2 separate regions of the Homo sapiens genome follow, and region 2 is linked to region 1. The links are contacts of gene promoters, found by promoter capture Hi-C in blood cells and fetal thymus (Javierre and others, 2016). All regions are on one chromosome and are shown on one strand. Each heading gives the region's core, a stretch centred on a gene start or on the middle of the fragment in contact. The rest is flanking DNA. Distances are from core to core; before and after follow the strand shown. Region 1 holds the start of DCHS2 (dachsous cadherin-related 2). Region 2 has its middle 13 kb from the start of SFRP2.

Region 1 (6,311 bases), core at 59-2,558:
CATCCAGCACGCGCAGCTCCACGCTCAGGAGGCCGGTGCGCCGGGGTCGGCCGCCGTCCCATGCCTCGATCTGCAGCCGGTGCGCCGCCGCCTCCTCTCGGTCCAAGCGCCGCAGCAGCACCAGATCTAGAGGCTCCAGGGGTGACGAGGAGCCTGGCAAAAGCGGTGACGGTAGTGGCCCCGGAGTCCGGTAGCGCAACTGGAAGAACGGGCCTGCGGGGTCCTTGGGCAGGTCGGACGGTTGCACCAGGGTGTAGCCCTGAGTGCTGAACAGTCCGGCGTCCGGATCGTGGGCAACTGGCAGGCGGAAGGCGGTCCCTGGCGGGCTGAGCTCGGAGACGTCGAGTTGCAGGGAGTCGAGGGGAAAGCGGGGCGAGTGGTCATTCACGTCGTTGACGCGAATCTCCACCTGCACCACAGCGCCCAGCAGCGTGGCGGCGACGAAGCTGTAGTGGTCCCGCCGCTCGCGGTCCAGGCGCCGCGCAGTGCGGATGATGCCGGTGTCCGGGTGCACGTGGAAGTCGTCCAGCAGCGGGGAGTCATCGGAGTCCTCCGACAGAAAGAAGCCGCTCCCCTCCTGCTGCTGCGCGGCCGGCAGCCCGGCGCGGATGTCACCTACCAGCGTGTCCGGGGGAAGCCCCTCATCTACGGAAAGGGTGAGGTTGAACAACTGGGCAGAGGAGCCCGAGGCCGCCCACAGCCACACGTGCACCAAGAGCCAGAGCAGGGAGCGCTGCGTCCTGGCGCCGCTGCTGCCTGACCGCCCATGGGGTGTATCTCTCCTCCCGGGGAGCAGAAGGAGCTTCCCGACCGGAGCCCGCCGCTGCTGACGCCCTTCGCCCATCTTCCGCCCACAAGGGCTCATTTCTCCTCCAGCTCCTTGGGAAGGCTCTCGGGTAACTGCCAGCTTGTGGCAGGATCGCAGAAAAATCCAGGAGCCTCTTCAGTGTCTGAGCCAGAGAAGAAAAGACTTTGTTTGGCAAACAAACCGACGGCCCAGGAATTCCCGAGGTTACATCTGCAACTGGTGAAAGCGTCCTCTGCCTGCAGCTCACGCAGACAGGGAAGTAAGCTCTAGCTGCCTCTGCCGCGGCAGCCACCTCTTCTGCCCCTGGATTTCTTTAAACGAATCTCATCTCTTTTTCTCTCTCCTTTTATTCCCTTTACATCTGTTCCTTGTTCTACTCGGCTGGTTGTTCCCCCCTGGTAAAGTCAGGTGCATTATTTCTTTTGCCAAAAAGGAGGAGATTATATGAAGCGCGCACACACAAGGAGAGGATGGGGATCTGGCCGGAGTAGGGGGTGGAGTAAGGGCGTGGAGGCAGGGAGTCAGGGCGCTGGGGAGGAGGGAGAGAGGGAGGGGGGAAGGGAGGTCTGCGGCCCTGTCCGCTGCTCCGGGGGCGGGGCGGTGGTTCCCCACTGTGTCTCCGGGCGCCAGGGACCGCGCGACTCCTGCTCCGACCCAGCCTCCGCCGCCTGCCTTCCCCTCCCTGCCGTGTGATGCGGCGCACACGAGGGCAAACTCCAACCTGCGAGCCGCGCTCTGCAGCAGGGCGGAAGAGGAGCAAATGCAAAAGCACTGGGAGACGTGCACCGCGGGGCGGGTGGGGGACGCGCAGGCGGGGCGTCTGCCTGGGCTTGGCCAAGTGCCAAGTGATGATGGGTGCGGGGAGGTGAGAGGAGCGGCCTCTCCGCGGCCTCCCCCTCCATCCGCTTGACCGTCCCTCTGCAGGCCTGACTCTTGGCTCGCGCTGAGCCAAGAGGGTAGAGGTTATCATCACTTTGGGGTGCCAAACTTGTGTTCTCCATTTGGCGAGAGGGACTCCCGTCCGCAGCGGAAGGACAGATGGAGTCAAAGGCCGATGCATAGCTGGGGCCAGGATGGCTTTAAAGGGGAGAAGGCGGAACTTGGAAAAGCCTTCCAGAAAACCCGAGAAATCTGTGGCACACATGGTGCAAACCACACTTTATTATGCGTGCTACTACCCAGCGACGTGTGAGCCTCTTGTCACTCCCCTCTGCCACCAGGAATGACGACAATATATCCGCCCTGAGAACCCTTTTTCTACATTCAGCGCCATCATAACACTTCCAGGATGTCTGACGATGCTGACTGATGAGCAGAAAGCCCTGGTGGCTGACACCCCGCAAGCCCTCAGCGCTCCCCCACCACCCCTAGGCAAGGAAGTGTGCAAGCGGGATAACTCTACGGATACCACTTTCAAAACTAGCTTCTGTCTGAGCCGAACGCAAATGCCAATAAATAGCCATAGTCGCAGATTTCCCTTCAATTAACTATAATAATCGGTAGAAACTGATCAATGGCCTCTAATAAAGTACGCCTGAGAAAAGACTCTCTGGACTCTTAAAAATGGCTGACCATATTTAGCAAGTGGTTTCTGCAATTTTGCATTTGGGCCTGAGAGAAGAATTAATTTCCTAGATACCGTTTCTCTCCTTTAGGGAGGACCAAAAGCCCTGCATAGTGGTTTCTTGCAGCAACAACAAAATGCCTTTTTAAATGTGCAACGGAGGTGTATGTAATTGCTAATCCACAGCCACACCGTTATCTCTACCTGTGACCAAATAACAATAAAATAATTGACTTTGTAGCATATATGTTACCGAAAATGGGGACATTATTAAAATAAATTCAGCTTTCTTTCCCCCAATGAACTCTCTTTAACCATTAAAGAGATTTGTTATGAGTCTTTAGAGTCTTTTTATCTTCAGTCTCTGCATTTGCACCCTAACTAGTCCCTCCCCTCCCACTCTTGCCCCTTTATAAGTAATTCTTTTCTGTTTTTGCTATTGTTGTTGTTGTTGCTGTTTTGTTTTCTGAGTCAGGATCTCACTCTGTCACCCAGGCTGGAGTGCGGTGGTGCAATCATGGCGCACTGCAACCTCATGGACTCAAGTGATTCCATCACCTCAGCTTCCAGAGTAGCTGGGACTATGGGTGCCCACCACTATACCTGGCAAATTTTATATTATTTTATTAATTTATTTGTTTATTTTTTTTACTTTTGTAGAGATGAGGTCTCACTATATTGCCCAGGCTCGTCTCGAACTCCTGGGGCCAGTCTTCCTGCCTAGGCCTCCCAAAGTGCTGGGATTACAGGCTTGAGCCACCGCAACCAGCCTATAAGTAATTCTTGAACAAGCATCTGGATTAATGTTTTTAAAGCTGTCTCAAATCATATTACCTCCTGCTTAGAACCTGAAATGATTCCATTATACTTAGATTATAATTCAGACTCCTTCAATCAAGCTCCTTTTAGTAGTACAGGATCCTATCCATCTTTCTGACCTTGCCTCATACCACCACTCTGGACTCAGCCATCTGCCTTCTTTTTGATCTTGTACCTTTGAATTGTTAGAACTTTCCATGCCTGGGAGTTCTTTTTTCTGCTTTGGAAAGAGCTAGCTCTTTCTCATTCAGGTCTCAACTCCAATGCCCTCTGTTAAGAAAGATCTTCCCTAATTACCCTATTTCAGATAGCCTTTCTACTATAAATGCTATATCCTTTCAGTATATTTCATTCACAACACCTATCAGCATCTGAAATCAACTTGCTTTTTTCATTTGTTTATTAGATTATTACAACCTCAAAACCTTCATTCTGCTTTATCTCAGCACCTAGAACAGTACCTAGCATGTAGTGTGTCTCTATTTACTAAGTATGTGTTGGACAGACGGTTGGTTGAACCTATGGGTAAGTGAATGCATTTGTCTGTTAAAGTAGAAGTTGGAAGCCATAACCAAGAATGAATTGGCCATGAGAATCTTCACTGTAATGAATTATGTCTTTGCAATCTTACTCATCTTAATTATTTCATAGGACTTCTTGAACTTATTTTTCAGCTTCGTCAACTTACTTTGTAAACCATTGTATTAGTCTGTTCTTGCATTGCTGTAAAGAACCTGAGACTGGGTAATTTATAAAGAAAAAATGTTTAATTGGCTCATGGTTCTGCAGGCTGTACAGGAAGCATGGTGGGATCAGTTTCTGGGGAGGCCTCAGGAAACTTACAATCATAGCAGAAAGTGAAGGGGAAGTAGGCAGGAGGAAGAAAATGAATGGGGAGGTGCTATACACTTTTAAACAAACACATCTCATGAGAACTCACTCACTCTCATGAGGACAGCATCAGGGAATGGTGCTAAAGCATTCATAAGAAACTGCCTCATGATCCAGTCACCTCCCACCAGGTCCCACCTCTAACACTGGGGATTACCATTCAACATGAGATTTGGGCAGGGACACAGATCCAAACCATATCAACCATATTGTTAACAAATATTTACTTGAGTCTAAAAATAAAGGAAAAGAAGCATCTTTTACTGCATCTTTCACTGACACATTCTTTGTAAACAGTGGTTTAGTTTAGAAACAGTGGAAAACAAATGGAAAATCAAGAACCTCAGACATCTATTTTCCTATTAGTTCTAAAGCTTTATATCTCCAGCATGTACAATTCAAGGTCTCCTGTCCATTTCACAATTACCCTTCATTGAATGTCCTGAATATCCTTAATTATAGAATTAAGAATTCAATTTTGTAAAGTAAGAGAAATAAGAGCATTTCTCAGATATGTGAAAAATAATTTTAGATAATACAGAAGCCAACAGCCTGCAAGAAATAGGTCAAGGTCTGATCCTTGTAAGCGAAGCATCATGGCGTAACTGGCCAGAGTTTTAGCTTTAAAGTTGGAAAATCCTTATTCTGCTCTATAATTTGGGGCAAGTTATTTAAATCTTAAGCCTTAGAGTTTCCTCCTTTCTAAATTGGGGATGATACATCTAATTTACAGGGATGTCATGGGCCTTAAATGAGGCAATATATGTGGATTGGTACCTAGAATGCATGTGGTAAATTGTATTTTTCTTGCCCTCTGGTGTTTGTATGATGAAATGTTTTAGGAGTGAATTATTTTGGAATTCTCAGTAATATCAAACTCCGACTTCTTAGCCCCCCAGAAGGTGTGAAGGGGGAGGATATAAAATTCCCACTATCTGGCTGGATGCAGTGGCTCATGCCTGTAATCCCAGCATTTTCAGAGGCCAAGGCAGGAGGATTGCTTGAGCCCGGGAAGTAAAAACCAGCCTAGGCAATGTGGCAAGACCTTCTCTCTACAAAAAAAAAAAAAAAAAAAAAAAATTTAAAAATAGCCAGGCACGCTGATGCATACCTGTAAGTCCCAGCTACTCAGGAGGCTGAGATGCCAGGATGGCTTGAACCCAAGACATTGAGCTGTGTCATTGCCACTGCACTCCAGCTTGGATGACAGAGCGAAAGCCCATCTCAAAAAAAAAAAAAAAAAATCCCCAGTATTGTAAACAGAAACTTGGACAAAAAGGCTCAAGGCATTTCTTCACTTTGTGTTATTCAGTTTAAGTAACACAGGAAGTCCCTCTTCAGAAACATTTTCCCTCAGACTGTAGGTAGCCCTCAGCTTTGTGATAGTTAATTTAAATAGTGTAGTTGCTAAGTGCTCAAAGCAGGGTTCAAATCACCTCACGTCAACCTTTTAGGAAAGGAGTTATAATTAGTATTCCCATCTTACAGATGAGGAAACTGAGGTTCAGGAGCATTGCAAGTCATGTGGCCAAAGTCCCACAGGTAGTAGAATTGGAACCTGAACCCAGTTTTGCTCCAGTGTCCACGGTGTTCACTGGTCATTTATTGTCTTCATGATTTTCTTTAATAAGATTGTCTTCTTCTGAATTCTTGATGAAATCAGTACAGTGATATAGTGAGTTTTGGGAAGACCTGGGAGAACTACAGAAGGAGGAACTTGTGAGCATGTTAGTGGGAGTGGTGGGGAGGCACAAGAGGATAGTCACATGTCAGTACTTGAAAATACAACCAAAAAAAAAAACCAACTCCGTACTTAGAAATGTACTTAGAAATGGTACTTAAAGGCCAGTAAGGAGAATCGGGTGACATGGAGGGTTTCTTCCCAACTTCTCACGCATGGGGATGGCCCTCTGAGGGTTAAGAAGGGTGCATGATACCAGGAAGCCCCCATACTCCCTTGACTCACATGCCATCTTTCTGAAAACGTTTGAGCCAAAGAGCGTTTGGAGCTTGTGATGGTTAAATGTGATGTGTCAAGTTGGCCCAGGCTACGGTGCCCACATTGTTTGGTGAAACACTGGTCTAGATGCTGCTAGGAAGGTTATGTCATGCTGGGAAGAACCCTAACTAATATAGAGCTTTGTGGAAGTGGAGATAATTTAGTATTTAATATTATAGCTGGTATTTAGAATCTACATATATTTTGTGTTCTTAAAGTTTTTAAAATCA
Region 2 (6,239 bases), core at 1,115-3,614, 690 kb before region 1:
TGAACTCCACAGCATCATCCCAGGCAGGGAAAACAAATCTGACTCACATTTTGTTGCATGTTCAAAAGAAAATCAGGCTCACTAAATTAAAAAGAGATCTAATTATTTAAAAAATGTTGTTACTGTTGTTGGAATTTGAATTTTAAATCAAAATTATATTGCAAAATAGATGACAAGTAGTTGAAATATTAACTGAGGGAAACAGTTTTGGCACTCCAAGAAAAACCCTTGTAATTAATCTTCACTGGTAATCTCCTCAGGCTAACCATTACTAATTAGAAACATGTTTTGTCAACCCATCCAGACTTTAAGCCTGGTGATGGTAGGAGTATATTTTTTTGTACTGCCATAGCCCCAAGACTGAGTAGTATGCTTTGCATACAGCAAATGTATAATCAATGAAGTTTGTTACTACTTTGCACTGAGGGCTAAACATAACATCATACACTTAAGGCAAACACAGAACAGAAGGCTTTTCCTGGGATGGAGCTATTCTCTTTTCCAATCACGTGCTGTTGTTGAGAGACCATCTATGTGGAAAGAGTGATTTGGTTCTGACAGTGTGAGCCACAACATCTGGAGTCTGGCCCTCCACCCCAGGCCTTGACCTTCTCAGTCAGAAACAGTAGATAAATAGTGCCTGTAGAGAAATGATTTAATCAGCAAAAAGATGCAACCTTGTAAAATCCACGAGGGCAACATGACTAGTGTTTTACAGATAAGTTCATACTGAGTATCATTCTTAGCATAAAGGCATTTACAGTCTTTACTTGATAAGTTATCAGAAGAGGCTTCTGTGCTTTGGGTGCAGATGATATAATTCTCAGCTTCCCATTCCTACCTGCTCTACTTTGCTGACCGACACGGTTTTATTAACCATGCCCCTTCCTACTCTCTTAGAAGGCTGGCATGCTTACAGGTGCTCTCTTAATGTGATTCAGACTTTGTGTTACTTTTTTTTTATTGTGGTAAAATACACTGTATGTTAACATAAAATTTACCATTTTAACCTTTTTAAATTTTTTTTAAATTTTTTATTTTTTAAAGAGACAGGGTCTTGTTCTGTCACCCAGGCTGGAGTGCAGTGGCATGATCATAGCTCACTGCAGCCTCAAACTTCTGGGCTCAGGGGATCTGCTTGCCTCAGCCTTCCGAAGTGCTGGGATTACAGGCATAAGCCATTGTGCCTGGCCCCATTTTAATCATTTTAAAGTGTACAGTTCAGTGGCATTAAGTATATGTGTCCACTTTAAAAATCAAAATATTATTCACATTTTGGGGCATTTACTACTTATTAACACTTTTACCAAAGGAAAACCTGGCACAGAAGAGCAGGGACACCCTTATCACATAATGAGTTCTCTCAGCAGCAGCTGATTGTAAAATGAGTTGGTAGAGTAGGAATTAGAATTTATTGACTAAAGCAGAAATGTTGTGTTAGCCGTAGCCATTATTCTTTTTTTTTGATTTCTCGACATTTTTATTAATTATTTTGTTTTTTTACAGCTTGATCCTCTTATGAAAAGGAAAGAATTTAAAGATGAACAATTACATTTTTGTTTAAACGGCAATTAATCCTTATTACAGAGAACAAAAGATCTGTGGCACATTGTCTTTGGAAAGATCTTTTGCAGATTTTTCTTCTAAAACAACTATAATTCTCTCACAGATCACATATTCTCTTTCAAACGACTATACAAGGCAGCTACACTTTATTCACAAAGCCCCAAGTTGCAGTTCCATTGCTGAAGCAGGTAAAATACATGGAGTTCCCCTTAATTTGTGTTGCACATCTTCCCATTGAGAGCATCACTGCTTCCCTACCCTATGTACAAAATCATTGTGTTGATGATAGCTGGCACGTTATTCCACAGTAATTAAAGAAAAACTCATTATTTTAAAGCTAGACCATTGATTTTCATTTATCAACTGGAAAATTTACTCCTTTTTAAAACAATTTTAATAATACCAAGATTTGACTTTCCTCCAAAGTTATAAGAAAGCAAAAAATATATAATATAATATAATATAATATAATATAATATAATATAATATAATATACAATGGTAATAAAAAAAAGGCAACCTTGCTCAGGTATCACCCAAAACATGATCACATTCAGAAAAAAAAAATTAAAACAAGATTTGGGACACATGCGTGCGTACATACATACACACACACACACACACACACACCCCAACATGAACAGTGTATACTCGATATCTGAGGGGGATGTGCAGTAATTTTAACAATACATGTTGATGGCCTGAACGAAAGGTGAAGTTAATACTGCCTGTGTTAAGCATTGCTTAAAAAATCTACTTTTAAGCAAAGCAAGTTGTCTTCCTTAGGTCAGCCACTGCCTGGTCCAACCAGTGCAGTTTGGCCAGCCTCACTATGAGTGGTCTTATTCCCTTGTCCTCTCCAGGCCGATATACTAATATATAGGCTCACAAGGAGCTGTAGGGTTTCCCTCCTGCCCTCTTAGGTAGAGAAGTATAGGCACTTCTCTACCCAGTACAGTGCCTGCTGATCTCAGACGCTCAGTGGAACAGAATATAGTGTCATTTCCCCCTGACAATAAGAAATTTATAGCCATCTGAAGAAAAGCAGTAGTTGGTATTTGTCAACTCACCATAAATAAGAACTGAAGAACATGGTCAGTGCTCACAATTCATGAAGAGATGAACACTCTAAGTCACCGAGAAACCAACACAACTGGATTGCATATTTGAGGTTCACATGGTGGCGATACCACTTGCAGTGTTTGAAAGAAAACCCCTAACACTATGCTATTCTGCCGTTACACCTCCTTCCAATAGAATGACACAAAATAAAGGCACAGGAAAAATACCTTACATCCGTTAATCCTAAGTGGGACCCAAAACAAAAGAGGCAACTGGCTCAAGAACAGGAGGGGAAAAAAGGTACTGCCATAATTGATCCTAGCATCCCTTCATGGCTGCAATGCGTAACTCTCACTTTTCAGTGAGAAAAATCTATACTCTTGTGTTTCTAAAGGAAGCACAAAATATTCTTGCAAGATTTAAATACTGCTAATCAGTGGCAAAGAGTGTAAACAGATGAAATGGCAAAGTTTAAAAGTTTTTTGTTTGGGAAAATAAAGAATCTGTGGTAGGAAGCAAGCAGGTTTAAGTACATTAAAAACAAACAAACAAACACAAAAAAACCGAAAGCCTGGCCTCAGGCCTTAATCTACTTTAAGATGGATGAATACAACTCAAACTTCATAAAGCAGAGGAGTAAAAGGTGCAAGAGCCATGTAGCATCCCTGAAGCCAACCATAGCCATTATTCTTGCTATTCTTTTCTCTCAACAGAATTGGTTAGACTTGCTAATAACTTCACAGAGATCACAGCTCTCTAAGCTGAGTGATTCTTTAAAATGAACACAGTTAGAAGTGGATCTGTAGACCTTTAAGCCAGGTGGAAAATTCTGGAATACTGTTTTCCTGTGGTAACTGCAGTTTTTGAAAGACCACCTCACCTTTCCGTGACTCTGACGGTAGAGACAGGGCGACATCACCTTCCTTCCTACCTGGAAAGACAGTCCTCAGTCCTTTTTCTCTCGTTTGGTAGGAGCCAATCTGTGCTTTAAGGCCTATTTCAAACATTTGTGTCCAAAAAGTAGGGCAAAGATGATGGCAGCAGTAAGACAGCATGCGCTTGAGAAATTTAGGAGCCAAAGGAAGGAGGGGACAGAGGGAGTCAAGTGAAAGTCTTTAAATATGCTTTTGTTTTCATTTTAATTTCTAGATAGGAGAGTATATTTGATGATGGAAGTGATAATTCTCTTCCGTGAGGAAATCAAAGTTTGTAGAGAAAAATGATAGAATCTAAATGTTGGAAGCCAGCTGGTCTATTCTCCACCCAGTGTTATGTCCCTGATGGGGAATCCAAATTTCTCCTGGACGCACACAGGGATGGGGAGCTCCCTCTTGAGCTATTCTCAAGATTACCTAACTCCCTTCACTGTCTCCTGCATTCACCAAGCAACCCTGATCTAGGGAAAGATACTGTATTAATTTGCTAAGGCTGCCATAAGACAATAACTACAGACAGTGTGGCTTAAACAGCAGAAATTAATTTTCTCACAAATCTTGAGGGTAGAAGTCCAAGATCAGAGTGCTGGCAGGGTTAGTTTCCTCTGAGTCCTTTCTCCTTGGCTTGCAGATGGCTGCCTCTTGTTGCCTCATCACAGGGTTGTTCCTCTGTATAAGCACATCCCTGGTATCTCTCCCTCTTCTTATTAGCACACCAGTCATATTGGATTAGGACCCAACCTCAATGACCTAATTTTAATTTAATCACCTCCTGAAAGAGTTTATCTTCAAACATGGTTACATTCTGAGGTACTGGGAGTTGGGATTTCAATATACAAATTTTGGGAGGTAGAGGACACAATTCAGCCCCTAAGAGATGCTCTGGATGGAGTCATACCAGGACACTCCAGTGAGCCACAGAAATCTTGCAGATGTGCTGAGATATCGATTCCTTTAGTCTTTGAGGTGGCTGTTTAGGGTGAGGGGCTACTGGGCACCAAGAGGAGCTGCCAAATTTACTCCAGTGTATCTTTCAAAGATCAACATTTCTATTAGTGGCACAATGCAAAAAATACTGTGAAGCACTGGTGGAAGACCCATATATTCCAGCAACTATAACGATTATGTTTATTATTCTAAATTAATATGTTGTCTCGCAAAGCGGACATGAACACTCATCACCACTGTTATGCAGTGTAAATGTAAGATAGGATTTATTTGGAGGACAAAACTTAAAGCAGAGAAGTGCATAGGAACCTCCAAGCTCTCATGATCCCACACAGAGACACACTTAGGCTAGGCCCAGCTGGAATGGTTGTATCATGAATGGACCCACCCTGTCTTAGTCCATTTGTATCACTATAACAGTATACCACAGACTGGGTAGTTTATAAAGAAAAGAAGCTTATTCCTTATTGTTCTGGAGGCTGGGAAGTCCAGTATCAAGATGGTGGCATCTGGCAAGGGTCTTCTTGCTGTGTCATCCCAAGGTGGAGGGTGAGAGAGGGAGAAAGGGGAAGACAGCAAGCAAGAGAGGGCTGAACTCCATTTGATAAAAAACTCACTCTTGCAATAATGAATCCATTCCTGCGATAGCAACATTAATCTATTCATGAGAGCAGAACCCTCAGGACCTAATCACCCCTTAAAGGTCCCACTTCTTAACACTATTGCATTGGGGATTACAGTTTCCAGAAGTGGACTTTGGGGCACACATTCAAACCATAGCACACCTGTACAATGCTCCATGTCAGTGCTGCTCACGGTGTACTCCATTGGCTGGCAGTTAGTTGCCAGTCCATGAGGGACACAAGGAGATGGCACCAGTATGTAAATCTGCTATGTCCCTAAGCACAATGTGTAGTTCAGCAGGCATTTTATTTTCTTGTAGCAAGGCTTCCTTGATGAAGACAGTAGTGTGTTGATTTACAGTGTGATACAACTTTCAGGCCCATATCAAACAGTTCCAGTCTGTCCTTTGAGCATAGGGACTTATGAGCAGAAAGCATTAATGGAGGCCTCTGGTGGGGGAAGTGGCCTCATTAGGAAAGAAAGTCTTTGAGGCTCAGCAGCTGCTGTCAGCTTGGATTCCTCGGAGCTAACTCAGATTTGCTGAGTCAGCTTCTAAGCTAACAAACGTTGGAAGAAGTGAGCCTTCAGGGTTGTCCAGCTTTATTTCTCCTCACATACTATCCTTTAGGCCTATTATCAATTTCTTTAGTATGTGATAAGCCTCCGATCAATTCTCTATGCACTGACAGATTGTGTTTCTGGATCTGCAATACTGAAGACCATGCTCTGGTCTATGGTGACACAGGAAACTACTGCCACCTTTTGAGCAGCTGACCGTCCACCCAGCCACACTTTCTGACATCTTTCCATCAGGAAATACTTGACACACAGTATTTTCTTTTTTCTCATTTTCTACAGGATCTGATTAATTTAACAGTTTCCTTTGCCCTGTTTCAGTCATGAGCCTTGATGCTATCTTTGACACCGTACTTATCTCCTTTATCTTTTTAATTATCATTTTAAACATCCTTGTTACTCAATTTGTGTGTGTGCGGGTAATAAGTAGTGTTCTCAAACATTTTTCTATTTACTCCCAAGAATTGTTAGAAGCTGCTGATAATAGTTTCTGTCTTAATTGTTTTTTGACCATGGAATTTGGTAGTAT

Evidence for each region. The method cuts DNA at HindIII sites, captures the fragments that hold promoters and counts their contacts. A CHiCAGO score of 5 or more calls a contact.
Region 2: a contact is called between a fragment that was not itself captured here and the fragment with the promoter of DCHS2 in region 1, in 1 of 17 cell types (endothelial precursors). The highest score is 6.2, in endothelial precursors.

Annotation. Positions count from the first base shown.
Region 1 is chr4:154,490,491-154,496,801 of GRCh38, forward strand. It overlaps DCHS2 (dachsous cadherin-related 2), which reads right to left and starts at 1,309. Exons shown (of 20, transcript NM_001358235.2): 1 at 1-1,309. The coding sequence starts at 865. RefSeq lists enhancers at 1-93, 94-1,049, 518-657, 708-887, 1,690-1,739. The HindIII fragment of the contact is 6,491 bases long and covers 1-4,454 here.
Region 2 is chr4:153,799,286-153,805,524 of GRCh38, forward strand. No RefSeq gene overlaps it. Among named protein-coding and RNA genes, the nearest start is that of SFRP2, 13 kb to the left of the region's middle. RefSeq lists an enhancer at 5,165-5,334. The HindIII fragment of the contact is 5,199 bases long and covers 1-4,964 here.